Regions from separate parts of the Homo sapiens genome. Here regions 1, 2, 3, 5, 6 and 7 are each linked to region 4. The links are contacts of gene promoters, found by promoter capture Hi-C in human tissues and cell types (Jung and others, 2019). All regions are on one chromosome and are shown on one strand. The core of a region is centred on a gene start or on the middle of the fragment in contact, and the rest is flanking DNA. Distances in the headings are between cores, read along the strand shown. Region 1 overlaps NALCN-AS1 (NALCN antisense RNA 1). Region 2 overlaps PCCA (propionyl-CoA carboxylase subunit alpha). Region 3 overlaps NALCN-AS1 (NALCN antisense RNA 1). Region 4 holds the start of GGACT (gamma-glutamylamine cyclotransferase). Region 5 overlaps NALCN-AS1 (NALCN antisense RNA 1). Region 6 overlaps NALCN-AS1 (NALCN antisense RNA 1). Region 7 overlaps NALCN-AS1 (NALCN antisense RNA 1).

What was found. The method cuts DNA at HindIII sites, captures the fragments that hold promoters and counts their contacts. A contact is called where the count stands out against the background at its distance.
Region 1: a fragment that was not itself captured here is called in contact with the fragment with the promoter of GGACT in region 4 in 1 of the 25 tissues and cell types used here (bladder).
Region 2: a fragment that was not itself captured here is called in contact with the fragment with the promoter of GGACT in region 4 in 1 of the 25 tissues and cell types used here (dorsolateral prefrontal cortex).
Region 3: a fragment that was not itself captured here is called in contact with the fragment with the promoter of GGACT in region 4 in 2 of the 25 tissues and cell types used here (dorsolateral prefrontal cortex and lymphoblastoid cells).
Region 5: a contact is called between a fragment that was not itself captured here and the fragment with the promoter of GGACT in region 4, in 1 of the 25 tissues and cell types used here (hippocampus).
Region 6: a fragment that was not itself captured here is called in contact with the fragment with the promoter of GGACT in region 4 in 2 of the 25 tissues and cell types used here (dorsolateral prefrontal cortex and lymphoblastoid cells).
Region 7: a contact is called between a fragment that was not itself captured here and the fragment with the promoter of GGACT in region 4, in 1 of the 25 tissues and cell types used here (thymus).

Annotation. Positions count from the first base shown.
Region 1 is chr13:100,876,795-100,880,766 of GRCh38, reverse strand. All of the region lies in intron 2 of NALCN-AS1 (NALCN antisense RNA 1), which reads right to left. Among named protein-coding and RNA genes, the nearest start is that of LINC00411, 66 kb to the left of the region's middle. The HindIII fragment of the contact is 3,148 bases long and covers 662-3,809 here.
Region 2 is chr13:100,167,682-100,171,945 of GRCh38, reverse strand. All of the region lies in intron 6 of PCCA (propionyl-CoA carboxylase subunit alpha), which reads right to left. Among named protein-coding and RNA genes, the nearest start is that of PCCA, 81 kb to the right of the region's middle. The HindIII fragment of the contact is 6,001 bases long and covers 1-4,264 here.
Region 3 is chr13:100,988,835-100,992,960 of GRCh38, reverse strand. The region is part of intron 2 of NALCN-AS1 (NALCN antisense RNA 1); the gene reads right to left. Among named protein-coding and RNA genes, the nearest start is that of LINC00411, 47 kb to the right of the region's middle. The HindIII fragment of the contact is 5,950 bases long and covers 1-4,126 here.
Region 4 is chr13:100,587,240-100,591,365 of GRCh38, reverse strand. It overlaps GGACT (gamma-glutamylamine cyclotransferase), which reads left to right and starts at 2,577. Exons shown (of 3, transcript NM_001195087.2): 1 at 2,577-2,625. RefSeq lists a silencer at 2,425-2,944. The HindIII fragment of the contact is 6,002 bases long and covers 1-4,126 here.
Region 5 is chr13:100,940,219-100,944,153 of GRCh38, reverse strand. All of the region lies in intron 2 of NALCN-AS1 (NALCN antisense RNA 1), which reads right to left. LINC00411 (long intergenic non-protein coding RNA 411) reads left to right here. Exons shown (of 3, transcript NR_047015.1): 2 at 3,022-3,152. Among named protein-coding and RNA genes, the nearest start is that of LINC00411, 2.2 kb to the left of the region's middle. The HindIII fragment of the contact is 5,107 bases long and covers 1-3,935 here.
Region 6 is chr13:101,009,597-101,013,565 of GRCh38, reverse strand. NALCN-AS1 (NALCN antisense RNA 1) reads right to left here. Exons shown (of 8, transcript NR_047687.1): 3 at 216-348. Among named protein-coding and RNA genes, the nearest start is that of LINC00411, 67 kb to the right of the region's middle. The HindIII fragment of the contact is 3,999 bases long and covers 1-3,298 here.
Region 7 is chr13:100,897,898-100,901,829 of GRCh38, reverse strand. All of the region lies in intron 2 of NALCN-AS1 (NALCN antisense RNA 1), which reads right to left. Among named protein-coding and RNA genes, the nearest start is that of LINC00411, 44 kb to the left of the region's middle. The HindIII fragment of the contact is 5,371 bases long and covers 1-3,932 here.

The sequences.
Region 1 (3,972 bases), core at 986-3,485, 290 kb before region 4:
TAGATTGTGATTCCTGACATGTTTTTCCTTTTTGCAATTCTGTTTTGGTTTTCTGTTTATTGTGCACCCTTTTTATTTTTTTCCCTGTTTCTTGTTACAAAGTTTTCTTTATTCCATTTTTCTCCTCTGATTACTTGGCTATTACCTCTATTACTTCTATTCTCTAAATAATTACCTTAAAATTTTTAACATGCATATTTAAACATATTTTCCAACACTGAAAATTATTTGTTCATTCAACAAATATTCAATGCCTGCACACCCTGTGTGAAGCATTGTCCTGGGAACAGGGGTTCCACAGAGTAGGAACAATAAGCTCATGGAATTTACATGCTGGTAGGAGAAGCAAGGCACTAAGGAAAGTAAAGCTCACCTGCAGATATTTGCAGAAGAGCCAGGAGGCAAATGTCTGGAGCCACTGAGCAAGATGGAATGTCATGGGAGATGACATCAGGGAAGTAAAGTATGTTGCCAGGGCCGTGTGGGTCAAAGTGAGAAGCTTAGCGTGTTGTTGTTGTTGTTGTTTTATTTTGTTTTTGTTTTTGAGACAGAGTCTCACTCTGTCGCCAGGCTGGAGTGCAGTGGTGCAATCTCAGCTCACTGCAACCTCTGACTCCCTGGTTCAAGCGATTCTCCTGCCTCAGCCTCCTGAGTAGCTGGGATTACAGCCACGTGCCACCACACCCAACTAATTTTTGTATTTTTAGTAGAGACGGGGTTTCGCCATGTTGGCCAGGCTGGTCTCGATCTTTTGTCCTTCTGATCTGCCCACCTCGGCCGTGCTGGGACAACAGGTGTGAGCCACTGCACCCAGCCGAGAAGCTTAGTTTTGCACTAGGTTGGGAATCACTGGAGGATTTTGATCGGGGAAAGAAGCAACCTGACCTGGGTTTAAGCAGGTTCAGTCTGGCTGTGGAGGTGAGAATCCAATGATAGAAAGCACCGGCAGAAGCAAAGGCTGTTAGAAAAATCCAGTCAAATCCAATGGTGGCTTGGATCAGAGTGGCTGCAAGGAGTGGGGAAGTGGCCACATTCTGCATATATTTTGGAGGTAGAGCCAAAAGTAAGGTTTGCTAAAAACCAGATTATTGGTGTTAGCGTAAGAGAGGAGATGAAGTTAACAGCAGGTGTTTAATCTGCAACACGGAGGACCAGATGTGCCATTCACGAGAGCAGAAACTGGTTCCTGCAGGACAGGGTGGGAAATGTGGGGGCCACGTGCAGGTCATGTTCAAATTTGAGATATCTACTACACATCCCAGTGAGACAGAGTGTGCAGTTATAGAGAAAGGACTGCAATCGATGGGAGGCAGAGTCCTCGACATAGGGATAATATTTAGACAGGAACTTTGATGAACTCTCCTGGGCAAGCAGACTAGATGGCAAAGAGAAGAGTTCCAAGAATTGAGTCTTGGGGCAGAGACCATGTAAGAGGCCAAGAAGAGGAAGAGAAACCAGGAAAAAAATTAAAAGAATGAGAGAGAAAAAAAGTGAGAATGATTGCAGGAAAATCAGCTGAGATGTGTTCAGGAAGCCAGGGACAAACAGTGTTTCCAGGAAAGAATGTCAATTTCTGTTGATAGGTCAAGTACAATGAGCTCGGAGATTAACCACTAGATTTTTCTAGGAACAGTTTCAATGGAGGCAAAAACCTGTTTGGAGTATTTTCTAGAGAGAAGGAGAGGAGAGGAATTGGTAGCAATTATAGATGATACTTTGAAAGAGTTTTGTTGCAAAGAAGAGATGCCCTTGGTAGCCTCAGTCAAGTCAGGTGAAATATTTTTTTTAAGATAGGAAAAATAATAACATGCCCGTATGTTATGGCACAGATTCATTTGAGAGGAAATAACTGATTTCTGCAGAAGAGAGAGGAAAGCATTGATGGAGAGCAGGTAGAATACATGGGGACATCCCTTTTTCCCCTTGGAATATATCTGCCAAAGTGACCAGACCACTTATCCTGTAGGGTTTCCTGAAGTCTGGTTGTTGCTCACTGCATTTTCATGGTATAGTTTGGAATGTTCTCAATGGTTTCTAAACACAATTTTGTAATAACAAAGCTTTTTCTTTAAATCAAATTTTAGCTGGAAGCACAGTAGAAAAGGCCTCAGAAGGTGCAGCTTGCGTGTTGGAGTGGGGCCAATTGGACAGTCCCAAAAGTGAGCCAGGGGCTCCACCACGGCTGTCTTGGGGCCTTGTATCTGAACAACTATGGAATGGATAATTAGTAGAGAAACACAGATTTCTGTTAAAAGGGAGCTTTTGAACACCTCCACTTGTTTATAGTATTGAGCCCAAATGAGACCAAAATCTCACTTCCTGAAATAGCTAGAATGCAGATTTTCCATTTAAAGCTATTGTCATGACAAGAGATTATCTTCCATAAGGTGAAAACCATAGGCAACCATGCTGTCTGGGATTTGTACAGCCCTTCGCATTTTGAGAGTTTTTCACAGACAGACATGACATCCCTAAATTCTAACTGCTAACCACCTGAGAAGGAAGCTGAGGCTCTAAAGGTCAAGGGAGGCCATTATCACACAGATAAGTGGGGTTCTCTCCATAGACTGTTTTCTTTGGGTATGGAGATAACAGTATTGACCAAAGACATCAATAGGGTTTGCACTCTTAAGTGGATTGGCCAGAAGTAGCAATGCCCAAGTGTTCAGATATTTGGTTTCTTTAATGATGAAGAAGACATGTTCTCCAAATGACTTTGCAGAGCCAGAGACACAAGCAGTGATTACTGAACTCAGCCAAATTAACTGGCCCTTGGGAAAGTCAGAACATGGCCTCTTCAGGGGGCCCTCACTAACTCAGCTCACCAGCCTGGGAAGCCTTTTAATTCAAGTAATATTAGAAAGGGGTGTTTTTCTCACTGGTTGTCCATTCCATGTGGTACACAGAACTATTTATTTATTTACTATGCATTTTGTATCGTGTTGTATCATGTATCATGTCATTCCCAGTTAGAGCATATCTTGGTTCTGCTGCAGCACAGCTTTGGGGTTTATTAGAAAAGTAATGAAACAGAGGAATCAACCATGTCAAAAAAGGAGAGACAATTTAACAGGAACATTTCTGTGTAGAAACAAAGACCTGTTTTTTTAGAACCGTGAGTTTCTTGCTGTCTTCTCCAGGCTTATGTAACTGCTAATTTGCAATCAGGACTTAAGTTATTTTCACACCCTCATATTAAAAAGCAGAGAATTCATAAATATTTACCAGATAATTGCATATGATACATAATTTCTTCTCTCCCCATAAATTATGAACACATTTGATACATCATGAGGAGGAAAAAAGTTTAGGAAGACAACAAACAAAAATGGCCATTAAAATGGCCGGTCCCACTTTGGTGGCCTGTCCAATTCTTTTTCCTCATAAAACCCCACTACGGAAAAAGAAAGATTCTCAAAATTCCTAAGGCAGTGGCTTAAATTAAACATCCACAGTCCAAGATGAAGCTGATTGATCCAGGTCACTTCCTAACTCAGGGTTCTCACACTTACAAAGTTTCCAATAATCAACCATTAACTACTGTAGTTCCCTGAAGTAAGCTTTTAAAGGGCCATAAAGCCACATTTTCTAGCTTCTCCTCTAACACAGAAATCTTCACATTGATTTTCCTCTTCTCATCGGTTCTAACCCCAATATCCCAAACTCATTTTTATTATCTTAAATAATCAAAATAATGTCCAATAAGAAATAATAGCCAGATAATAACTAAACTCTTAAGCTATAGAGGATGCATTGCTTGAATGCTACGGCATAAGAGATTAAAAAACGTACAGATTAAAAACCAATAACTCACCATTCCAATCTAGTTACAAACAGGTATTGTCTATCCCACACAGTGTTTCATAATTTTTAGTTGATTACTAACATTGACAAATTGGGAGATTTCCCATAAATCTGCTTTTATGGCTCAACCTCAAAATTTGGAAAATCTGGCAAAACTGGGTTCACTGA
Region 2 (4,264 bases), core at 1,000-3,499, 420 kb after region 4:
ATTCTCCTGCCTCAGCCTCCCGAGTAGCTGGGACTACAGGTGCCTGCCACCACGCCCGGCTAATTTTTTGTACTTGTAGTAGAGACAGGGTTTCACCGTGTTAGCCAGGATGGTCTCCATCTCCTGACCTCGTGATCTGTCCACCTTGGCTTCCCAAAGTGCTGAGATTACAGGCGTGAGCCACCGCGCCCAGCCACACCCAGCTAATTTTTAAATTATTTGTAGAGATGGGGTTTTCCTATGTGCCCAGGCTGGTCTTGAACTCCTGGACTCAAGTGATCCTCTGGCTTCAGCCTCCCGAACTGCTAGGATTACAGGCGTAGGCCACTGCGTCTGGCCGTAAAGAATTATTAATGACTAGTAAGTAAAGTGGTAAGCAACAGGAATTCAGAAATGAATGAGTAAAAGTCCTTGACTTGACATGGAAGTAATTATACTAAGGCTAAAAAAGAATGTGGAAGTGGAGTGGGGCATAGTAGTCAGAGGAGGCATGCTCATTCTGTCTAGAATCTCAGCTTAAAGGCCACACTCTCAGAGAAGACTGTCATCACCCTATCTCAAGAGGCTACCCAGTCACCTTTCAGGACAGTGCCTATCAAATTTTCTGGGCTTTACAGTTTTAAATATTGACAATCTCAAGGAGCTTTGGCTTATACATGTTGTATATATCAATATTTACCATGTTAAAATTAAGAAATTTTTAAAAATGTATTTCAAAAGAATAGCCCATTTAATGTTAACAATTAGAAGTAACATTTTTATGACAAATTCATTAGAGTAGAAATGTTTTACATTTTCACAAATCTCTTTAACATGTGGCTTAAGACAGCTGGATTCTCAAATCTGGTTCCTGCATTCAATCTGCTGTGATAACATATATCATATAACTCTACTGTTACATGGAAAACTCTACTGCACAATCCTCAGAGAATGAGAGCAGGAAAAACTATTATGGAAAATTGTTTACTTCAGAGTGTCTGAAAGGGTCTCAAGAGTCCCCAGGTACCACAGAACATACTGGGAACCAATGCTCTATTGTATCACCCACTCTTATTTTATGGCTACTGTACGCTATGCTGACAAAATATGCTGTTACTTGTGTATAGATTATGTAAATATGTAACTAATTTACATCCAATATATTTTCTATCAATTGTGGCATTCTAATCAGTAAGAGCATATATTACTATAAATGCTGTTATCAAAATATTTCCTTATAAATCAAATATTGTGGTTAAGAAATACAACACATTATTTTTATCTGCACTCAACAATCAACTAGCACATAAAGGACTGAATAAAAAGCTAGGAACATGTACACATGCACACACGTAGTGGTACAGACAGGCGCTACACCATAGGTAGGTTGGGAAGTGGAAACATACAGAAAAGAATACTCTGTGCTTGGAACATTAGCATATCACATATTATGAGTCAAAATGGTAACTTAGGAACATTGTAATATCCTTAAATAAGGACCAGTACAGAAACAAAGCCCCAGTGATCATTTCATTATTTCTGCTTCTTTGCCTGTTTTAGAAAGCATGCATTTAAAAGTTTAAGTTTAGAACAAATCTGGGGGCAACAAGAATCATTAACTACATGTAACAGAGATAACTAGCATTACTTCAGTTAACCCAAAAAAATCCTCGAGCAATGTACTTCCTTCACTAGAACAAAAACAAAAATCTTTCCAACTGAATTCTAAGCTTAGGAGTCACATACAAATAAATCAATGAAAATAAATTTTAAGACATCACGAAGTTACCGTAAGTTTAAAATAGCATAACACAATGAAAGCACAAGGATGCTTCTCAAAGCATCCCTTCTACATTTATTTCCAGAATTCTAAATTTGAATTCAGCAACTTATCTAATCTAGCAAAGAGTTAATAAGCACCTCCAGAAAGCCTGAGTGATACAGAAGAATCAAAAAGCATGAGTTCAGGCTGGGTGTGGTGGCTCATGCCTATAATCCCAGCACTTCCGGAGGCTGAGGTGGGAGGATCACCTGAGGTCAGCAGTTTGAGACCAGCCTGGTCAACAAGGTGAAACTCCGTCTCTACTAAAAATACAAAAATTAGCCAGGCAAGGTGGTAGGCATCTGTAATCCCAGCTACTCAGGAGGCTGAGGCAGGAGAATTGCTTGAACCTGGGAGGCGGAGTCTGTAGCGAACTGAGATCGCACCATTGCACTCCAGCTGGGCAACAAGAGCGAAACTCCATCTCAAAAAAAAAAAAAAATACAGAAATTAGCCAGGCATGGTGGCGCTCACCTGTAGTTCCAGCTACTCAGGAGCCTGAGGCAGGAGAATCACTTGAACCTGGGAGACGGAGATTGCAGTGAGCCAAGATCGTGCCACTGCACCCTAGCCTGGGCAACAGAGCAAGACTCCGTCTCAAAAAATAATAATAAAATAAAAAATAAAAAGCATGAGTTCAGCCTTCTACTTGCATACAAAAGTGACTAATCCTTACATAAATCAAGGGATTTTTTTTTTTTTTTTTGAGACAGTCTCGCTCTGTCGCCCAGGCTGGAGTGTAGTGGCACGATCTCAGCTCACTGCAACCTCTGCCTCCTGGGTTCCAGCGATTCTCCTACCTCAGCTTCCTGAGTAGCTGGGATTACAGGCACCCGCCACCAACCTGGCTAATTTTTGTATTATTAGTAGAGACGGGGTTTCACCATGTTGGCCAGGTTGGTCTCAAACTGCTGACCTCAGGTGATCCGCCCACCTCGGCCTCCGAAAGTGCTGGGATTACAAGCGTGAGCCACTGCGCCTGGCCAAATTAAGGGAAATTTTTAAAACAATTTACTTTATGGTTGAAACATGCCTTTTTTGCCATGTAATCCATAGAGGGTTTTGTTTCTAAATTACTTCAGAAAGCTTAACACAAGAATCAGAAGCTATATTCTATTTTAAGATTCAATAGAATGTCAGTCTGTAAAACACTGGTCTTTCAACCCGGTAGTTTTGGCCAAAATTAAAATAACAAAACAAAAATCCCAACAACAATAAAAACCCTCAGTTTACAATGGCTTAAAATAATTTTAAAAAGGCTTATTTCACACAATGAAAAGAAACCTTTTCTTGAAAGGTCCCCTCACTTGCCAGGAATCAAACTGGACCATGAGCCTCCCATAAACTGGTCATTGGTAAGGAAGAGAATGAATCCTGGTCAGGATTTCACTAGTCAGAATTTACCACTGAGACTCACAGGGAAGGGATGGTCACCTAAGGTGACGCTAACAACCGGGCAGAAAGGGTGGACAGCAGCATCAACAGCATCTGCTACGTTGTCACATTTCAAAAGGGGTTCAAGAGTCACCTAGGTAGAACTTGAATATTTTCCCCCAATACTAGCATAAGTAACAGCTAATAATTCTCTTTGGTTCTTTTAGCCTCAGCTGGAGTGCTTGGAATCTGACCCATGCATACATGGAACACTCCAGAATTCATTCCAGGAACTGTTCAAAAAAGGCCAAAAAAGGAAACTGCCCCCATGCCATTTCCTCCTTCCAAGGGTAGTCGCCTTCCTATTTCTGTCTAATTGTGGCTGCTCTCTGGTACCCATAGGTATTATGTAGCTTTTTCTATTTTGTCCAGAATTTATAATTGGGATGTGTGGAGAGGCTGGTTTGATATATAAATATTCTTGGTTACAGCCTAATTTATCTTAGACCCAGTAAAACGCTATCTGACATCTTGTATACTGTTAATGACTGGAGCAATCTTAAACCTCATCCTTCTATGGGAATGAGCCTCTCTTACTCACGATGGTTATGTGTGGAACTGAAGAATGAACACTAGAATCTCTCAGGTTGAGATTCAACTGCTGAATAAGGTGGCATATGTGTTCAACTGGATTGTTAAAGTAAGGAAGTTCTGAGAGAGAAAAGAGGGGGTCAGTGGTGAGGAAGGAGGTCACACCAAGACGGCCTCAGCAGGATTAGTAATACATGGGAGTAAATGAAAGGGGGTGTGGACAAAGTATTTTTAAGAGTTCATTATCTAGCCAGTTGTGGTGGTGGGCGCCTATAATCCCAGCTACTCAGGAGGCTGAGGCAGGAGAATGGCATGAACCCGGGAGGCAGAGCTTGCAGAGAGCCGAGATCGCACATGTATGTCCCATTACTTTTTCTGCAAGGGTGCCAAGGCAATTCAAAGAGGAAGGGATAACCTCTTCAAGAGATTGTATAGCAAACTGAATAGCCACATGCAAAAAAGATTAATTTAGACCCTACTTCACACCACATATAAAAA
Region 3 (4,126 bases), core at 1,391-3,890, 400 kb before region 4:
GGTCAGTTCTACCCTGATTTTAGTTTTTCTTTTCTTCTGCTAGCTTTGCAGTTAGTTTGTTCTTGTTTTTCTAGTTCCTTCAGGTGCAACGTTACATTGTTAATTTGAGATCTTTCTAACTTCTTCATGTAGGTGTTTATCGCTATAAACTTTCCCCTTAACACTGCTTTAGCTGCATCCCAGAGATTTTGATATGTTGTGTCTCTGTTTTCATTTATTTCAGAGTTCTTAAATTTCTGTCTTAATTTTACTGTTTACCCAAAAGTCATTCAAGAGCAGGTTGTTTAATTTCTATGTAATTGTGTGGTTTTGAGAGATCTTCTTGTTATTCATTTACTTATTTATTTGAGATGGAGTCTCGCTCTGTTGCCCAGGCTGGAGTGCAGTGGTGCGATCTCGGCTCACTGCAAGCTCTGCCTCCCAGGTTCACGCCATTCTCCTGCCTCAGCCTCCCGAGTAGCTGGGACTACAGGTGTCCGCCATCACACCTGGCTAATTTTTTTGTATTTTTAGTAGAGACGTGGTTTCACCATGTTAGCCAGGATGGTCTCAATCTCCTGACCTCGTGATCCACCTGCCTTGGCCTCCCAAAGTGCTGGGATTACAGGCGTGAGCCACCGTGCCCGATCTTATTTGTATTTTTATTCCACCATGGTCTGAATGTATGGTTGATATGATTTCAATTTTTTGAATTTACTGAGACTTGTTTTACGACTGAGCATGTGGTCAATCAGATTATGTTCCCTGTGCAGATAAGGATAATATGTATTCTGTGGTTGATGGATAGAGTGTTCTGTAGATGTCTATTAGGTTCAATTGGTCAAGTGTCAAATTTAAGTCCAGAATTTCTTTGTTAGTTGTTTGCCTCAATGATCTAACACTGTCAGAGGGTGTTCAAGTCCCTCACTATTATTGTGTGGCTAAGTCTTCTTATAGATCTAGAAGTACTTGTTTTATGAACTTGGGTGCTCCAATGTTGGATGTGTATATATTTACAATACTTATGTCATCTTGTTGGATTGAACCCTTTATCATGCTGTAGTGCCATTATTTGTCCTCCTTCTAACTGTTGTTAAAGTCTATTTTACCTGATATAAGAATAACAACCCCTGCTCTTTTGTGTTTTCTGTTTGCATGATCTTTCTCCAGCCTTGAGTCTATGAGTGTTGTTATGTGTGAGATGGGTTTCTTAAATACAGCAGATGAATGGGTGGTGGTGGTGGTGTTTTTTTAACACAACTTGCCACTCTGTACATTTTAAATGGGCATTAAGACCATTTACATTCAAGGTTAATATTGATATGTGAGGCTTTGATCTTATCATGAAGTTGCTAGTTAGCTGTTTTATAGTTTCTTTTGTGTGTTGCTTCAAAGGGTCTGTGGATTATGTTGTTCCTTCATCTCCATGTTTAGAATTGCCTTAAGGATCTCTTGCAAGGCTGGTCTAATGGTAGTAAATTCCCTTAGTGATTGTTTTTCTGAGAAAGATTTTATTTCTCTTTTGCTTATGAAACTTAGTTTGGTTGGGTATGAAATTCTTGTTTGGAGTTTCTTTTTTTTTTTTCCTTAAAGATGCTGAAAATAGGTCCTCAATCTCTTCTGGCTTATAGGGTTTCTGCTGAGAAGTCTGCTGTTAGCCCGATGGGGTTCCCTTTGTACATAATCTGACCTTTTTCTCTAGCTGCCTTTAAGACTTTTTCTTTAGCATTGACTTTAGACAATCTGGTGACTACATTCCTTGGTGATGTTCAGATTTTTATAGTATCCGGCAGGTGTATTTGGAGGTATATTTCTAGCCAAAAAAATTCAAGAATACTCTTCTGGGCTTATACCTCCACCTCCACCCTGTCTTTTCCATTTGTTGCTAATTCTTTCACATAATGCCAGTTCTTTAGGCTTTAAGAAAAGCCAGTCAGCATCTGCACTGTCTTCTCTCTTCCTTAGTACTGTCACAACCCACAGAGGCCACCTCCCAGAGATGTTGGTATTTCACTGAATTGGCACATTAACATTCCTTTTCAACTTCACCATGCATTCACAGAAATTTGCTTTCTCTGGATCAAAGTGGGGAGAGATTCTGGGTTTTTTTATTATTATATTACATTTATGTTTTAAACAGTATTCATTCCACAACTAACTTCTTTAAAAAACCAAGTAATTAATTCTTAGCCAAGAATAACCAAGTAGTTAATTCTTAGATTCTTTCCTTACTCCTAAAGTTATTACAGAATGGCATACAAGACCTGAGGAAACCTGGAAAAGTATCAGTTTGTCTTTAAATTATCTTTGTCGGATGTGTAGAAAATATATGGGAACTGAATAAAGAAAGAGCTGAGAGCTGGATAAAGAAATAGTTGAGAATAGCAGAGTGACTAAGAAACGTTCTTCAAGCTTGGCTCTTATTTTTTTTTTTTTTTTTTAGACAGAGTCTCCTGTGTTGTCCAAAGCTCAGCACTATTGACTTTTGTGCTGGTTAATTCTGTATTGCAGATGTTTAGCAGTATCCCTGGCATCTACCCATGAGATGCCAGTAGCACCCACACACACCAGTTGTGATGACCAAACATATCTCCAGATGTGGCCAAATGCCCCCTGGGAAGGGTAAGGGTTGATCATCCCATTGAGAATCACTGGTCTAGAGGTTCAAATTCCATTTTCACCACTTACAATCTGAATGATGTTATCCAATATCCATTCTTTCTATTCTTACTAATAGAACCCCAAATTTGATCAGGTTTGCTATAAGCCCAGCTAAAAACGTTAACATAGTTCTGCCTATTGAGACATAAGCTGAAGTTTTCTGGAAGGCTTTTGTTGATCTGATCTAGGCGACACTCCTTTTTCTTTCACCCTCCCCTTTCTCTTTGCCTGAAATGCCAACACAGTGAATGGAGCAGCAGCAGTCACAATGTGCCCATGAAGACCAAGCCATGCACTGAAAATGAGAATGTAGGAAGGTGGAAGGAAGCTAATACAAAGGCCAGCAAATCCAGCTTGCCTGTTTTTATACAGCCTACAAAAGGAATAGCTTTTACATGTTTTAATGGTTACAGGAAATTTTTAAAATGTATAATATTTTATGACATAAAAATAACATGAAATTTGTATTTCATTGTCCATAAATAAAGTTTTATTGGTACGCAGTCATTTGTTTACATATGATCTGTGCTGCTTTTGTGCCCTAAAGGCAGAATTTAGTAATTGCAGCAGAGATGGTACAGCCCACAAAGCCTAAAATACTCTCTGACCTTTAACAAAGTTTATCAACTCAGACAGAATAACATCCTTGACAACTCAACTCCAGACTTTTTGTTGTGTGAGAAAAATAAGCTATTGGCTTATATAATCCACTATTTTTCAGCTTTATGTCACTTCCAGCCAAAGGCAGTCTAATTGGTGCACAGCTAAATGAGATTTGATGAACTGGAAGAACCAAGGGCAGCATAATGAGGACACTGTCTAGAGGACATTCTGCAGACGTCAGGACATCTAATTTATTTCCCTATAATTTCCCAGGAAGTTTAAAGCTTTTCTTGGAATAGACTGTGTCTATAAAACCGGAAAGGAGGGAAGAAATGAAAACTTTGAAGAATAAATCTTTATAGGACTCAGCAGACAAATAGGTGCACAAAGCAGAGAAGGTACAGTAAAATAATAATACCTTAGTGTATTAGTTATTTATTGCTGTGGAACAAATACTCCTAAGCAACAACACTTTCATCTCACATATCCTGAAATTCAGGAAGCTGGGCATGGTTTAGGACTTGCATTTACTGAATCACAGTGACAGTAGATTGTAGCCATCTCAAGGCTCAATAGGAGCCACTTCCACACTCACTCACAAGGTTGTTGCCAGAATTCAGTTCTTTGCAAGCTGTTGGGCTGAGACCCTCTGTTCCTTACAGCTATCAGCCAGAAGCTGCCCTCAGCATCTTGCCACGTGGCCTCTCTGTAGGGCAGCTGGCGATGTGGCAGTGGCTTCACCAGAGTGGGCAAGTGAGGATTTGAAAAGGAGTGTGTCCCAGATAGAAGTCACAGTCTTGCACAACATCATCCAGAAATGACATCCCAGCACTTCTGCTGTATTCTGTTCATTAAAAGTGAGTCACATTAAAAGTGAATCCCC
Region 4 (4,126 bases), core at 1,328-3,827:
TAAAAAGGCAGAGCAAAGGGGCCAGAATGAGCAGCTGAACCCTTTGCAGTGAATGACTCAATTGTACCATTTGGACACAACCAAACAGACTTGGTGAGTCGACCCAGTTCCTAAAAGCTACCAGAGCAGTTGGCTTGCCAAGGGATCCTGAATAACTGACCAACCCTAAACTGACAAGCCCGGGACCTGCTTAGATTGACCAGTCTATTTCCTTGAGGCACTTTGTGAGTTTTATCTCTATGAGACCCAAGCTTTGCTGTGGAGCTGTCTTCACAGTGACAGCACCCTGGAGTGTGTCTATACACAAGAAAATCTTCACTTAGCACCCTCTGTCCACCTGCAGAATCTTAGACCCTACTCCTGGCTAGCTGAACCAGAATCTACATTTTAAAACAAGACCCTGGGTTGACTGACGTGCACGTTAAAGTTTGAGAAGCACCGAGGTACATCCTCAAAAGGCGATGGTTTTCAAACTTGAACTGGCATCACTCATTAGAATGTCCATCTCTGGGCCCCACCCCCAGACTTGCTGACACTGAGTTGACCCCCAGAGTCAGGACACCTCCAGTGTGGCTGGAGATTGTGCATTTCTAAATACCCAGGTGCTGCCAGTGCTGCTGGACTGGGACCACATTTCAAAAACTGCTCTTCAAACTGTGAGTTGTTTTCCAAGAAGTTAAACTGAAGGCTTCATCCCACAGAGCCTATTCTATGTTAGATTGGGCTTCCCCAGCCTTATCTGGGATGCAACTTAACACTTGTCTTGGCTAGGCACTGTGGCTCATACCTGTAATCCCATCGCTTTGGGAGGCCAAGGCGGGTGGATCGCCTGAGCTCAGGAGTTCAAGACCACCCTGGGCAACATGGTGAAATCCTGTCTCTACCAAAAAATACAAGAAACTAGCCGGGCGTGATGGTGGGTGCCTGAGGTCCCAGCTACTCAGAAGGCTGAGGTGGGAGGATCACTCGAGCCTGGGAAACAGGGGTTGCAATGAGCCAATAACATGCTACTGTACTCCAACCTAGGTGACAGAGTGAGAACCCATCTCAAAACAAACAAAAAATTCGTCTAGTCTGCGTCATCTTTAATTTTCCTTTATCAGAAGAATTATTTATCTATTTGTCTCACTTTCCTTTGCTGACATGATTTTCCCCCCTCAAAAAAGAGATGAAAGTGGAATCATTCTTTCGCTTCAAAAAGTTAAGAATTACTGCTGTCTTTAAAAATATTAATATGAGGCCGGGCGCGGTGGCTCACGCCTGTAATCCCAGCACTTTGGGAGGCCGAGGCAGGCGGATCACGAGGTCAGGAGATCGAGACCATCCTGGCTAAAATGGTGAAACCCCGTCTCTACTAAACATACAAAAAATTAGCCGGGCGTAGTGGCGGGCGCCTGTAGTCCCAGCTACTTGGGAGGCTGAGGCAGGAGAATGGCGTGAACCCGGGAGGCGGAGCTTGCAGTGAACCAGATCCCGCCACTGCACTCCAGCCTAGGCGACAGAGCGAGACTCCGTCTCAAAAAAAAAAAAAAAAAAAAAAAAAATATTAATATGAGCTAGACAAGGTTTTTTAATACATTTCAATTTAATTATGAAGTGTCCAAGACAAGAAAAAACTGTGAAAACCAACGACTTATGTACCTGATGGTTTAGATTTCTTTTGGAATTGTACATCTGTTCAAAATACAATTACATCTGCATTGTTGGAAACGTTTGGATAAAAACCAGTTTATATAAAGGTTTCAATCAGTCCACATCCATGAGAAAGTAGAAAGGGCAGGAAATGATTAAGGGGGATTATTGCTAATCTGATAAACACAGATTTGTGTCTTTCGGAGAGACAGAAGTGTCACTCTCTCCATAGCTGTACCATTCCTACCACCTGGCCCCCAAGTGGCATTGCTTTAACCCATTGTCTCTAGGGAAAATGTTCTCTTTCGATTTTGGTTCTCAGTCCTATAATTTCTGGGGCTTAAATTAGTCCTGGAGCTAGGGAAGAGGTGATGTCATCCTTCCATTGTCTCCTTCGGCCACAGTTTCATTTTAAGAGTATTGGTAAGTAAGTGGGCAGTGTGACTAGATGGCGGTCTGGACTCGGTATCAGGGCTGTGTGCATGCCCAGCTGGGGGGCCTTGGTGGTGTGTGATGTGATAGATACACACATGGTTGGCATCCCCAAGTGTGTCTGCGCTTGGGTTCATTTGTGTGTGCATGTGTGTCCATTTGATGTGGCGTGTCCCCAAGCTTGTGGAGTCGTCTGTGAGTCTGTTTTGTGGGGTGTGGCCCAGGTGTGTCAGGGTCCACCATGCAGTCGGGGCTTGAGCCTGAGTGCCCAGGTGTGTTAGGGTGGATGTGACTTCTGTGGGGCGTCCCCAGGTGTGTGAAGCTGGTTGCGCTGTGTCTGCGGCGGGGCGTCTCCGGCGGGCATCGGCGTGGGTGGGTCTGGCTGTTAGGCGGCCAGTTGTGCGAGCGGCCACGTGTGTGCGAGGGCGCCGCAGGGGCTGGCGGGCCTCGCGTTCCGCCTGCAGGGGGCGCCGCCGGGGGCGGCCTGGGAGCAGAGGCGCGGGCCCGGCCCTGCATTTCCGCCCTGGCCCTGCCCTCCCCGACAGCCCCGGCTGCCGGCAGGTGAGGCGCTGAGCCCGGGCGGGGGTCGGGGCTGCGCCTGCTCCGCCCCCCAGGCGGGGTGTCCTGGCGCCCGCGGGAACCTGGGGCGTCGCTCCCTGCGCGGCGTCCGGGTCGAGGCCGCAGCACTCGGCGTCCCCGCGGGTGAGGGAGGAGGCCTGGGGCGCCGCCGGCCGGCGAGGCCAGCCGGAGGGAGGGGACGGTGGACCCCGAAACGCGTCCTCCATTGCCCCGCGCGGGGGCCACGGGCGCGATTGCCAGAACGGGCAGAGGGCGGTAAAAGCCAGGAACCGCCTCACGCACGGGCGCTGCTTCCCTGTAAAGGAAGCGTGACAGCCCACACGCTGGCTTTCAGAGGACCTCAGCTGAACCGGGCTAACACTTCTCAGAAATTGTTTTTCATTTTAAAGATTTCCTGTTTGTAAGGAGACTAGAAGCTGCAAAAGAAATCTAAAAACGTCTCCTGGCACTTGTGAATTTCTGATCTAAGGTTTCTTTGGAGCCATTAGTGAAACTTCTGAAATTTTGAAGAAATTTACTGCCTTGATTATTAATTATGGTTATCATTGCTGTTTTACTCTGTGGGCCAAGGACAACGCCACAAGCTCAAAAGCAGACTTAAGTGTTTTTTGAACACAGCTTCTTAACTCCACGCTTAGTTGATTTAATATTTAAGTGATAAGAAAATGCAGTCGATTTCTGGCCCTTTTTATTGTTTGGGATGAAGTCTTGCCCTGTTGCCCAGGCTGGAGTGCAGTGGCGCGATCTCGGCTCACTGCAACCTCTGCCTTCCGGGTTCAAGCGATTCTCCTGCCTCAGTCTCCCGGGTAGCTGGGATTACAGGCGCCTGCTATCACGCCCAGCTTATTTTTGTGTTTTTAGTAGAGACAGGGTTTCACCATGTTGGCCAGGCTGGTCTCGAACTCCTGACCCCGTGATCCGCCCGCCTTGGCCTCCCAAAATGTTGGGATTACAGGCATGAGCCACTGCACCCGGGATTTGTGGCCTTTTTTAAAAGCAAGTTATTCGTTTTGCTAAATGTCCCAGGAGAAATGATTAATGAAAAACTAAAGGTGACCTATTTAAAGTGTAGGTCTTACACACACGTAGGTGTCCTTATGTACATTTACCTGTAAGTGAAGACTTTTCCCTGGCCTCATTCAATTTATTGAAATGCTCAGATGAAGAGCACCTGCAGTTTGCCCGTATTTTCCCAAAATGCCTTGTTTTCCTGAAACTATTCCCAGAAGAAGCCAGACTTCCCTGAATAAGCAGACCACTGTGTTCTAGCAGAGATTCGTATTGTAAAAGCTGAGTTTGCAAAGTTAAATTAATTTCTAATTGGTGGATTTTTGTACGGAAATACTTTGGGCTAGTTGATTTTACTAACCAGGCCCTAACTACTACTAGTTAGGAGAGGGTGGTTGTTTGTGGTGATCTGGATAGTAGGTAGCAGTAAGCAGAATAGAAGAGGGATTTTAAAATGATCTGTTCATTTCTCTCT
Region 5 (3,935 bases), core at 142-2,641, 350 kb before region 4:
ACAAGCCCTGTGTCTATTGCCTATGCATTAACTATGTATTAGCATTTCCTACATTCTGTACATTCCCTTTATCCAAAATATTCACATCTACCTCTTACTCAGCAGTCCACCAGGCTTTCCCATCCTTAGTAGCGTTTATTGATTGCCTTCAGGATCTATAGTGATGTTTAAAGCACTATAATCCATCTCTATCCTCAAAGATCTTGATGGAGTATTACAATAACCCTATCACTTATTGTTGTCAGCTTTTCCATCAGCATCAATTAGAAAAGGCATGAAGGGACCATAGGTTGATCAATTACTTTATCAAGGGAACAAGTATGGAAGCATCACTTGCAAATGATCAACAATCATTATTGCATGCAACTAAAAGGAGTATGTTTTATTTATTTATTTTTTTGAGGCAGAGTCTCACTCTGTTGTCCAGGATGGAGTATAGTGGCGTGATCTCGGCTCACTTCAACCTTCACCTCCTGGGTTCACGAGATTCTCCTGCCTCAGCCTCCCAAGTAGCTGGGATTACAGGTGTACACCACAACATCCGGCTAATTTTTTTATTGTAGAGACAGGGTTTCGCCATGTTGGCCAGGCTGGTCTCAAACTCCTGACTTCAAGTGATCCACCTGCCCTGGCCTCCCAAGTTGCTGGGATTATAGGTGCGAGGCACTGCACTCAGCCTGTTTTACTTTTTTTTAAATCCACAATATAGCCAAATCTCTTGTATACACAAAATAGTGATCTGCGGTCCATCTCATGGCAACCATGCTGTTCAGCCTATTGATCTTCTTTAATGAATTACCTGCTTTGTTGACATCTGCACTCTGCAATTCCAGAATTGATCACACATTTCCCTCATAGCCCATCTCCTCATTTCCATTAATTTTACATACTGTCTGCAGAGATAATCCGCTGTAAAGGAGGTAACACTCACCTTGGAATCAGAAGTCCTGGGTCCAAGGTCTGACTTGTAATTCATTGGGTCATGCACAATCTAATTTTCTTCATCTATATATCTGCCTGAATAACCCTACACTCTCTCCACACCTCTCAAAATAGGCAGGTGGTAAGAGTTATTACTTATTAGAAGAAGCTTTAGAAATCCAAATATTTCACCATCGTCCTTGATCAATGGAAAGTTTAAGAGAGACAGAATCATCTATTCTCAGTAGCATGGACTGCAGGGAACTGCCTCACTGAAGCCCCTGTTGATTTATTACATTAATTCATTACAGTTTGTGTGCAGAATATTAGACATGCCTAGCTTCAGGTCTCAACCTGAAGACATGTGTCATCCAACTAGATCTTCAGAATTACTCTGTGAGATAGGCAGGGCAGGTGCTATTGTTTTGATTTTGCAAATGAGGAGAGTCTCAAAGTTTAGCAAACTGAACAAGATCACACAGCTAGAAAATGGACAAACCAGGGCTCCGTTTTTCAAGCTTTCTAATCCCTAGTTCTTCACCTTCCAACACCTCTAACCGGAAGGGAGAAAGCAGTGCTTAAGTCCCTTTTCAGTGCAAAGAATGACAATAACCTGAGAGAGTTAATGCACCTTCCAAAAGATTCATTTCTCCCCTATTCACAAAGAGTCAGGCAGAAATTGATTTAGAACAATCAGGAGAAGACTCAGTAAGCTTCATCTACACAATAAAAATAATACACTTAGCATTCTCATGTGACTTCACATTTTGTAGTTATTGACAATAAACAATTAAAAATTTATCTCATAGATAACCAGATGGCTAGTATAATTATTTTACAACACAAAACACCTAGACAGGCTTCCTTTTTATTAGGTAGAGATAATTTAAAAATCAATTTAACAAAACCACTTTAAATGTACAGAGTTCCAAGCCTCATTGTGGTGGAATAAATCCTGGAAATCTGGGGCATTTAATTTACAATAAGCCTCAATAAACTGCCCTCATGAGATGGCTCTCATGACTAGAGGTCATTCATACAGGCTGAAGCTTAGTTGTAAACAGACTACACAGTGCGTTCTAGCCATTTCCAGCTTGAGACACAGGAAACTCCTCTTATCGTAATCAAATGCTGACAAGTCCCTTTGACTTAGAAAGTGACATACGGTGAAATGGACCCCAGTTTAAATTCTTCTCAAGTTTTCAGGGTGAGAAAGCAATTCCAAAGCAGCCCATTAGAGGTATTTGTCTGCATGCATAAGACATTAGGCAGCCTGACATGACCTGATGTTTGCAAAGGGAAGGATGGGTTTGAGGCAAAAGGATTTTGTACGTGCAAAGTGGTACAGGCCAAAAGAGCCACACATGTAACTTCTTTACATATAGCTTGCCAGATCTTTGCTTGCCTGCAACTAGCTGATTTTTCTATGAATGTTAAGTTCATGAGCAAATGAATAGAGGATCCAAACCTACCTTTTTAATTACAAAATGCTTTTTCCTCCCCTACAATCAGACTTCTACTCATTTCAGCACTGAAAAAAAAAATGTAATCATCATAATTCCTAGTAGCTTGCTTCTGTTTCCGCTTCAATAGATACCCTGTAGATGGGAAGTCACATAACAGCTCCACGTCCTATCAAGTTGCTTCCACCCGAAAACAGCTGCAATGCTTATCTAATTAAACCCCAGCCCCAAACTGTGAGCTTCCGCATCAATCATTAATATTGTATTATGGATCATTTTAAATTCTGACTGGGGTAGGTGGCTCCCCGCACACTGGTCTCTGAAGGAGATTTTTCAAATAATCTTTAAGCTGCATTGAAAAAATAAAACAAGCTGCCTGCTGTTCGAGGAAAGCTCTACTATCCTGCTGCACCCTGATTAGCTGTTAACACTAATTGAGAGATGAATATTGCTTATTCCAAAAATGCTAAAGATGGGTTTTTTTACATTATGAAAAGGAAAACGCAGTTCTCCTCACCTCAAAAATGTGTCTGTGGCTCTTTGTCCAAATTCTAAACAGCACCAAAAGAATGGTGGTTTCTGGGTCTCTTGTCTACAGTTTGCAGAGTGATTATCCTGAAACACTTCTTTTCTCTAGGTGGCCCTCCAGAGTTAGTGAACTGTGACCTCCACATGGGATTTGGACATGCGTGCCCTACATCTGGAATGCAGAAACACTCTTCACAGAACTCTGATAGCCCAGGAATATTTATGTAAATCTCTGTCCTGGTAAGGCACATGTTGATGTACTTGGGCTTAAGCTCATAAACCAAGAGGAACAGTTTCCTACATCCCCCTTCTAATGACTAAAGCCAACGGGCTGAGCCAAATGGGACAATTTAGACAAAGAGAGACTGGCGAAAAGCAAATGAATGTCTGCTTCCTTCTAGCATTCTAGGAAAAATACCAAGCGGCTGTGCCAATGTGCACTGCTTGCCTTTGTTAGGAGAATACACTCAAAATCAGGGGAATCAGTCAGTACCAGGTTCAGGAAAGATGTATGCAAGAGAGACTCCCTGATGAGGAAAAATCGACTACAGAAACACAGCATGCACCCAGCTCAGCACAAACACAGCTTAAAAATCCAAGGAATTAGGATGAAGTGTAGAATCCCGAGGTTCTCATTCTTGTTCCCATAAGCCAGGATTGGCTGAGCCTTAGCCAGGATACCACCTGGCATTCAGCCACATCGGCTAAAGAGATGAGGAACCTGAGAGGAAACAAATGTGAGGAAGAGGATGATTCAAGAGGACCAGAAATACAAGGAAAGGACAGAGGCCCTCGGATGGTTCACTGCAGAGAAGACAGGCTGAAAGATTTAGGAACCGGCTGAAAGCCAACATGCCAGAGCCTCCCAAAGGGTGGAATCAGAGATCTCTCCTGCTATTATTGTATCAGCAGCCTCACGTCTACCCTCGGGCCTGAATTTTGTTATAGATTTATACACATTTGATATAGAGTCCTTCCCATGCTACTTTCCTACTATCTCTGTGTTTCCTAGAACCAAGGTAC
Region 6 (3,969 bases), core at 50-2,549, 420 kb before region 4:
AGGCACTTGCCTTAGAGGGTGAAGCGCTACCACCATCTCAGCCTGCAAAAGCCATTTCCCAGCCATCGCCTAGGATCCCTGTGGCACTAATGACTGATGACTAACATCATATATTATTGCTGTGTTCCACCTGCCACCTTCTGGACTATTTTGTATATTTAGTCCTCATTTCCTCTATTAATCCTCAGGACTTAGCATTTTCATAAATTTCTTACCATCCAAGATGAGAGGAACATCAGAACTCCTGCTCGCTAACGACCAGCAGGCTGTGTAGAGGTGAGCAACGGCCAGCCTCCACTAATTCCACATCAGAGATCACTGAGGCATCCCCAGAGCTTGAGAAGTCAGCTTGCAAAGGAAAACAAAGGTCAGCAGCCTTTTGTGGTTGTTGTTTCACTAATTCTCTTCCACCCACTGAGAAACAGGACTTTGAATGTTCCAAGACATCATGAGGGTCCTAGCTTCCTGCCACCTAGTTGGTCCTGAAGAGACAATATGAAATCCGCTTTGGAAATGGCATGTGTTTTGGATACAGCCAGATCTTATATTTTTAACAGGTAGGAGGGTCAACCAATGTGGAAGCATAGTCTTGACCTCAATATCAAAGAACTTAAAGAAAGAAACAATACTGTAATCCCAGCACTTTGGGAGGCCGAGGCAGGCGGATCACGAGGTCAGGAGATCGAGACCATCTTGGCTAACACGGTGAAACTCTGTCTCTACTAAAAATACTAAAAATTAGTCAGGCATGGTGGCGGGCGTCTGTATTCCCAGCTACTCGGGAGGCTGAGGCAGGAGAATGGCATGAACCCGGTAGGCGGAGCTTGCAGTGAGCTGAGATCACGCCACTGCACTCCAGCCTGGGGAACAGAGCGAGACTCCGTCTCAAAAAAAACAAAAAACAAGAAAGAAACAATACAACATTAACATCCTTTCTTCTTCAGAAAAGAGCATAGAGAAAATTACAGAAGCTCTGTTCTTGTTGTTTGATTTGAATCTTCTCTGGGAAACACACAGCTGTTATTGTTCAATTACATGATTGCTTCCTTGTTAGATTCATTATTATGACTAAATATTAATACATTCCTTTTGGAGGGTGATGCAGTGGTTCTCCAGTGAAACTCGCAAGCAGAGTTAATGTCATTCCAAAATATCTTTATGAATTTAGATGTGCATACAGCCCCAACGTTCCTGATTTTTCTCTCTGGTTCTCAGAGAGATTCTTTGCCATATACACATTGTCTGAAGGTTTTGTCAGCATAACCACATTTTGAATGCAGGTAACAGAAATTATTTTGGTATATTCTGCACCTGAAGCTCTTGAATTTCTGGGTAATGATATTTCTAGTACTTTATTCCTGTGCAAGAGCTGCAGTTCCTTGCTTCCCTCAGCAGATAGACAGCTGCAGTTTTATTAGGCATGGACCTTAAAAAACATATTTCTATATATTTTTGAAGGGATGCTCACTCCAGACATAATATTTCAGAGACAACAAACATCACTACATGTGAAATGCCAGCAGAAGAATTCAGGACTTCAAGTCAAGAGACTACAGAGCAGAGAAGCAGTTGAAAAAGCAATTCCAAAACTTAACACTGTGAAAAAAAAAAATCTGCCAGATGACAATTCTGTATAAAAGTAGCCACACACACATAGAGTTGTACATCATGTTGAGACATAGGACAAATTTAAATTAAGCAAAAAGAAAAGCCAAGGCACATTTGGGAAATATATAGACCTCAGGGTTTGGGGGGATTTCGGGGGGTGTTGTTGCTAGTGGTGGTTTGTTTTTTGCTTTTTTGTGTTTTTTAATAAATTGGAAAGTCAACTGTGGAAAAAGACACAGATGCAAAGAGAAGTGTGATCAAGATAAGAATTTTAAGAAGGTAAAAGAAACTTCAGACACAATAGGACTTTAAAAGAATCAAACAGTTGAATATTTCTTTGGCCTGATCAAACTAGAGGCCGCAGATTTTAGAGAAGACTTGCTGAATAGAATCAACTTTGGGTTTGGGTTTAGTTTGGGAGGTGTTTGTGGGGAAGGGTGGAGTTTGTGATTGATATATATATGATATATATATCATATATATAAATGGTATATATATCATATATATATAAATGGATATATATATCATATATAAATGGATATATATCATATATATAAATGGTATATATATAATATATAAATGGTGTATACATATCTCATATATATATAAATGGTGTATACATATCTCATATATATATAAATGGTATATATATATCTCATATATAAATGATATATATATATCTCATATATAAATGGTATATATATAAATGGTATATATCTCATATATATAAATGGTATATATATATCTCATATATATAAATGGTATATATATCTCATATATATATAAATGGTATATATATCTCATATATATAAATGGTATATATATCTCTCATATATAAATGGTATATATATATCTCATATATATAAATGGTATATATATATATGTCATATATATATAAATGGTATATATATATATCATATATATATAAATGGTATATATATACACCAAGTCCAAGATCGATGTCACACCAAATTTTACACCCTATGTTGATGTCTGCTCCAGCAGACAAACATTATTAAATTCAATATATGCCACTCACTAGAGATATGGCTCCTCAATTCTGTTGAGAAATGAGTATCTCCCTCTTTCTTACTTCCCCTGCTCCTTCGCAAGCTTCTCTTTTTGGCCTTTCTGTTATAGTAATTTATGCCCAGATTCTGTCCAGGTGAGCCAGTTTCCTGAGATCACTGAAGAATCGCCTTGATGAGAAAAGCTGCAGATCATTTTATCGTATCATGTTTAGCTCAGCTTAACTTAAAGCAGGGCTAAAATGCCATAACTCCACACTGGGGCTTCCCGAACTCCTCTCACTCTATGATGAAGCACCACACACCCACCTCTCGGCCTCCCTTCCTGAGAGACAACCCCCAAAATGGCCAATATTTCTCATTTCAAATTCTATGCACAGCCCATATTTGTCATTTCAAATTCTATGTAAGCTTCCTGCAGCCCCTTGATATATAGTAGCTATGAAGATATACGTCTTTAATGCTTTAGAAACATACATTTATATTTATTATCCTTAATAAAAAGCAACAAGTTATCAACTGTTTTGTTCTCTGAGTTGATCTACCAGCCTATAACTGGTTTCTAAATGCTCCTAGATGTCCTGTACCTCCGCAAGTCACACTGTGGGAAGCAAATGAAATGCATGACCACAGTTTTACATAACATTCATATGTAAAAAGATGAATGCATCTCTTCCAAACACATAATTTAATAGGCTGTTCTAATAAAACACTGGGGAATTTAAATGTATTACACAATAACAATTCCAAATCCAATAAAAAAGAAAAGTGGATACATTGTCTTGAACTAATAAGGAAAATAGAATTTAAAATTTTTAATGCTATTTTTGTACAAAACAATAGTTGGGTTTTTTTTTCTTCATCTCCCACAACAGAGTGCAAAGAATGACAAATTGTCTGATTCTGCATAAAGCTTGGAAATAGAGTATTAATCTTAGGTTGATGTAAAATGTAACATATAATGTGAAAGAGCATATTGTAGAGAAGAAATGGGACTGTATATCGTGATGAAATCTGAATACTTACAGTCATGTTATTTTTCAAAAGGAGGTGATAGGTTCCTTTCCCAGCCATATGGGAAATTAGTTTTGGAGGGAGTGTTAATACATACCCCAAAATTGCCTCCAGACATAGCCAATCACCCAATCTTTGCTCTTTGTTGGGTTTTATTTTAGCTTTGTTTTTGTTGTGTTATATTTCCTGAGCATCATTCTATACATTCTCTGTTTTCATTATTGTTACTATCTATCTTCTGTTATCAGGCAAGCAAATTATGCTATATACTGGATCAAATGGAAGAAAACATCAATTTTGACCCCGTCTCACTGTATAA
Region 7 (3,932 bases), core at 1,295-3,794, 310 kb before region 4:
GTAGTAATCCACATGACTCATGTTTAGCTTAATGTACACACAGATGGATACATATAGAAATATTTATAGATACGTGTATACTGTATACATGAGTTGGCATACCCACATATATTTTCTTGCTGTCTCAGCTCAGAGGGCCTAGAAGCGTTAATATCCCAGTAGCAATGAGCACATCTAGTTCCAGGTCTTGGTTTCTAATTCCGTTCTCCAATAAAAAGGAGCCATGGTTCCTTAGAGAAACAACTGATTCTAGGACTGGGGCAGGACAATATACAGGAGGAGCCTGGAGCATCTCATGGTGCCAGAAGGTAAGAAAGGGCTCAAGAAACCAAAATGATGTAGGGGGGGACGGTGCAGAGGCATGTCAAAGGGACATCAGAGCCAGCCTGAAAGAACTATCAACAGCTACAGCTGAACAACGTAAGTAACAAAATAATGTAGTATTGGATTCTAAAACCAAAGTATCAAATAAATCTCCATGAGTCCAGACTTATATAGATGGGGTAAAAGAGACAAATCTTCCATAGAGATTAATTTCAAATAATTTATGTACATATCCTCATTTCTAGGAGGTGCAGTATAACTCCTCACTCTGGCACAATATGGAAAGGAAGAAAAAGAGTTACTTTATAGCAGAGAAACCTGACAAATACTACTTAAGCTAGGTGATCAAGATTAACATCGATAGTGGTAATATATGCTGATAAAATGCACTAATATGCACTTTATCTCTGTGGTCTTCCATCCAAAATCCCAGTTTAATCATAAGAAAAATATCAGACAAATTCCCACTGAAGGATATTTTATAAAATATCTGACCAAAATTCCTGAAACGTCTCAAGGTCTTAAAGCACAAGGAAAGTATAAGAAACTGTCAGTCCAGAGGAGTCTACAAAGATATGACAGCTGAATGTAATATTGCATTCTAGATGAAATCTGTGAACAGAAAAAGGCCATTAAAGGTAAACTAAAGAAATTTGAAGGATGTATGAACTTTAGTTAATAATAATGTATTGATAGTGACTCATTAATTGTTACAAATGTACCATAGTAATATAAGATGTTAAAAACGAGGACACCATGTAGTGTATATGGGAATTCTCTGTACTCTCTGTAACTGTTTTACAAATCTACAACTATTTTGAAATTTGTTAAAATTGAAAGAAATAACAAAATGACTTGGGATATATTTAGAATATAAAGAATATACTTTAGGCAGAGAAGAAATAACACTAGATTAAATATCTGAGATGGAAGAAATAATCATGAAGAAAATATAGATAAATATAAACAAACATCAATTGTATTCAATAAAATATCTAATATATATGAGAATAGAATAGACGATAAAAATGTAGACGGTCATAACATGTGACTTAAAAGAGTTTAAAAGAAGTTAAAGTATTCTAACATCTTTAATTACTACAGAATACAGTGAGCATGTGATAAACTTTAGACTTTGATAAGTTGAGTAAGCACATTAAAATAGTTACTGTGAGCACTAAGAGAATAGACATAGAGCATCATAATCCTATCAGTTCTTCAACATTTATTCAGAATCTGACCATTTGTCTTCACCTCTTCTGCCACCTACTCAGGTCCAAGACATTGGATTCTCTCACCTGGGTGAGTGTTGCAACCTCCTAACTGGTCTCCCTGCTTTTTTTACTCTACCCTTATTGAGTCTACTGTCAACACAGAAACTAGAGTGGTCCTGTCAGAACGGAAGCTAGATCTTGGTGTTTCTCTGCTCCAAGTCCTGCAATGACTTCACTTTTCATTCAAAGTAAAAGCCAAAATTATCACAATGATTTGCAAGATCCTGCATTAACTGGCTTCTACTTACTGCGATAACCTTGTATCCTACCGCGTTTTCTCACCTACCCTCCATTCCACACCCTCAGGCCTCTAACGTCTAACATTGAAGACCCACTCTCACCTCAGCCTTCACACTTCTGTCTGCCCAGAATGCTCTTCTCCATGGCATCTGCATGAGTCATTCCTTGGTTTACTTATATATGAAACATTCCCTGACTACCCTATTTAAAATGAAACCCCTTCATCAGAATTCACTATCCCTCTTCCTTGGTTGATTTTTCTTTGTCACCAATGAACTTACCACATAGTTTAGAGAAACTTTGTTCTCTAAGATCATAGACTATCAAAAGCTTTGCCGTTTGAAATTAAATCAATATGAGACATTCTGCTCTTGACTGAGGATCTAAGTCACTTTGACGCAGAGCAGCATTCTTGATTCACAACTCAGCTACAGAGCACCAGATAAAGGATTTCTGGACTCAGCCTTCCATGTCTATCTTAACTTTGTAGATTCCAAGGAAATAGGACCTTGGGTTACCTGATGCTGCTTTGAGCCTAAACTCCATCCTTCCCCCAAATCCTATAATACTTCTATCTTTTCCTTTGTTTGGTGAGACATCTTATGATTCTCAGCATGTGGTTTTCCTCATTGCAATGGGCCAGTAAATCTGATTTTGTCAGACTAGAGGTCACACAGAGAAAATTCTAAAGTACTGGTTCACAGGGGTTCATTTTATTGTTATTCTTTATACATAGATATTTTATTGCACTCTGACATTGAGGTATATTGGTTATATCAGTAAACTATGTTATCTTTAATTACTAAGACAAGTCAAAATTAAAACGAGCATCTCTCTAAATTAGGTTTTCAATTACATTACGACATATCAAGATTTCCTAATGATTTCCTATTTCATTCTTAATTCATGGAATGTCTGACACTCCCAAAGAGCAGTGCCTTCTTCCTTTGCTGACATAATCTGACTGCGAGTGGCCAAATCACACTGTTCGGTTCAGCTGCAAGGATGACAATATCCTCAAGTGGGTGGTTTCTCTCCTCCTGAAGCAGGTGATGAGGCTGTGGGAACTTGGCCCCATCACCTCATTCCTTCCATCATATCCTTGCCAGATGTTTCTGCCAGATTGATAAGGCTTCCATGCCTCTTTGTGTCTCATATTTCTTTAGTAGTGATTATACCAACCTGTCTACTTTCTGGAAAAAAAAATTCCTATAATTAAGAGCCCAGACATTGTGTACTTATTAGACACGATGGTGTCTCAAAGACAAATTAGGCACATTAAGTGTTTTTCCTGTGACTAGTTTATTGAGCCTGTGTGAGCACTAGTGACAACACAACAGGGCCATCTTTTAAATGAATCACTGATTTGCTGAACATCTGTTGAGTTTAGTCAGAATTAATCATTTGATGTCCTAGTATATGTCCTATATTTTGTAATCTTTCTTCATGTTCTCCTCAGAACTTGATGACATGTTTCAATAAGTAAATTTCAAGGGTTTTTTCTCCCATAAAATAAAAAAGCTATTTTCCTTCCAGGAAGAATTATAAATTTGACTAAGTTTTTTAACATTTGGATTCTTTATGAAAATCTTCCATGGTTTCCTGCTCTCTAGCTGGAGTTATTTAGAAACCCTACTAAAAATCCTATTTAGAAAGTGATATTATATATCTTTGTTCTTTTCAGTAGTAATTATTGGTATGGCAATAATAATAATGATGTGTAAATACACTTGCTATGAATTTCCTATGTGCCAGCTAGCTTGCATACCTTCATTGTCTCATTTAATCTTTTAAAAATCCTGCAGATTTAGTATCCTTATCCACATCTAAGGGTAAGGAAATGGTAGCTAAGAGAGGCTGGGTGACTTGCTAAGGGCACAAAGCTGGGTCAGTATTTAGACCCAAGTCTGTCTGATCCAAAGTTTACCTACATTCCAATATACTCAGCCTCCTGCACTGATGGTGCAGTTAATTAAGAGGGTAATTAACTGATAGCTAAGACTTGGCCTCCCTATGTAGAAACAAGACTCCATTTTCATTTTTTATTTTTACCAGTCATTAGGACATTCCCAAACATGAGCATGCTAGGACTTC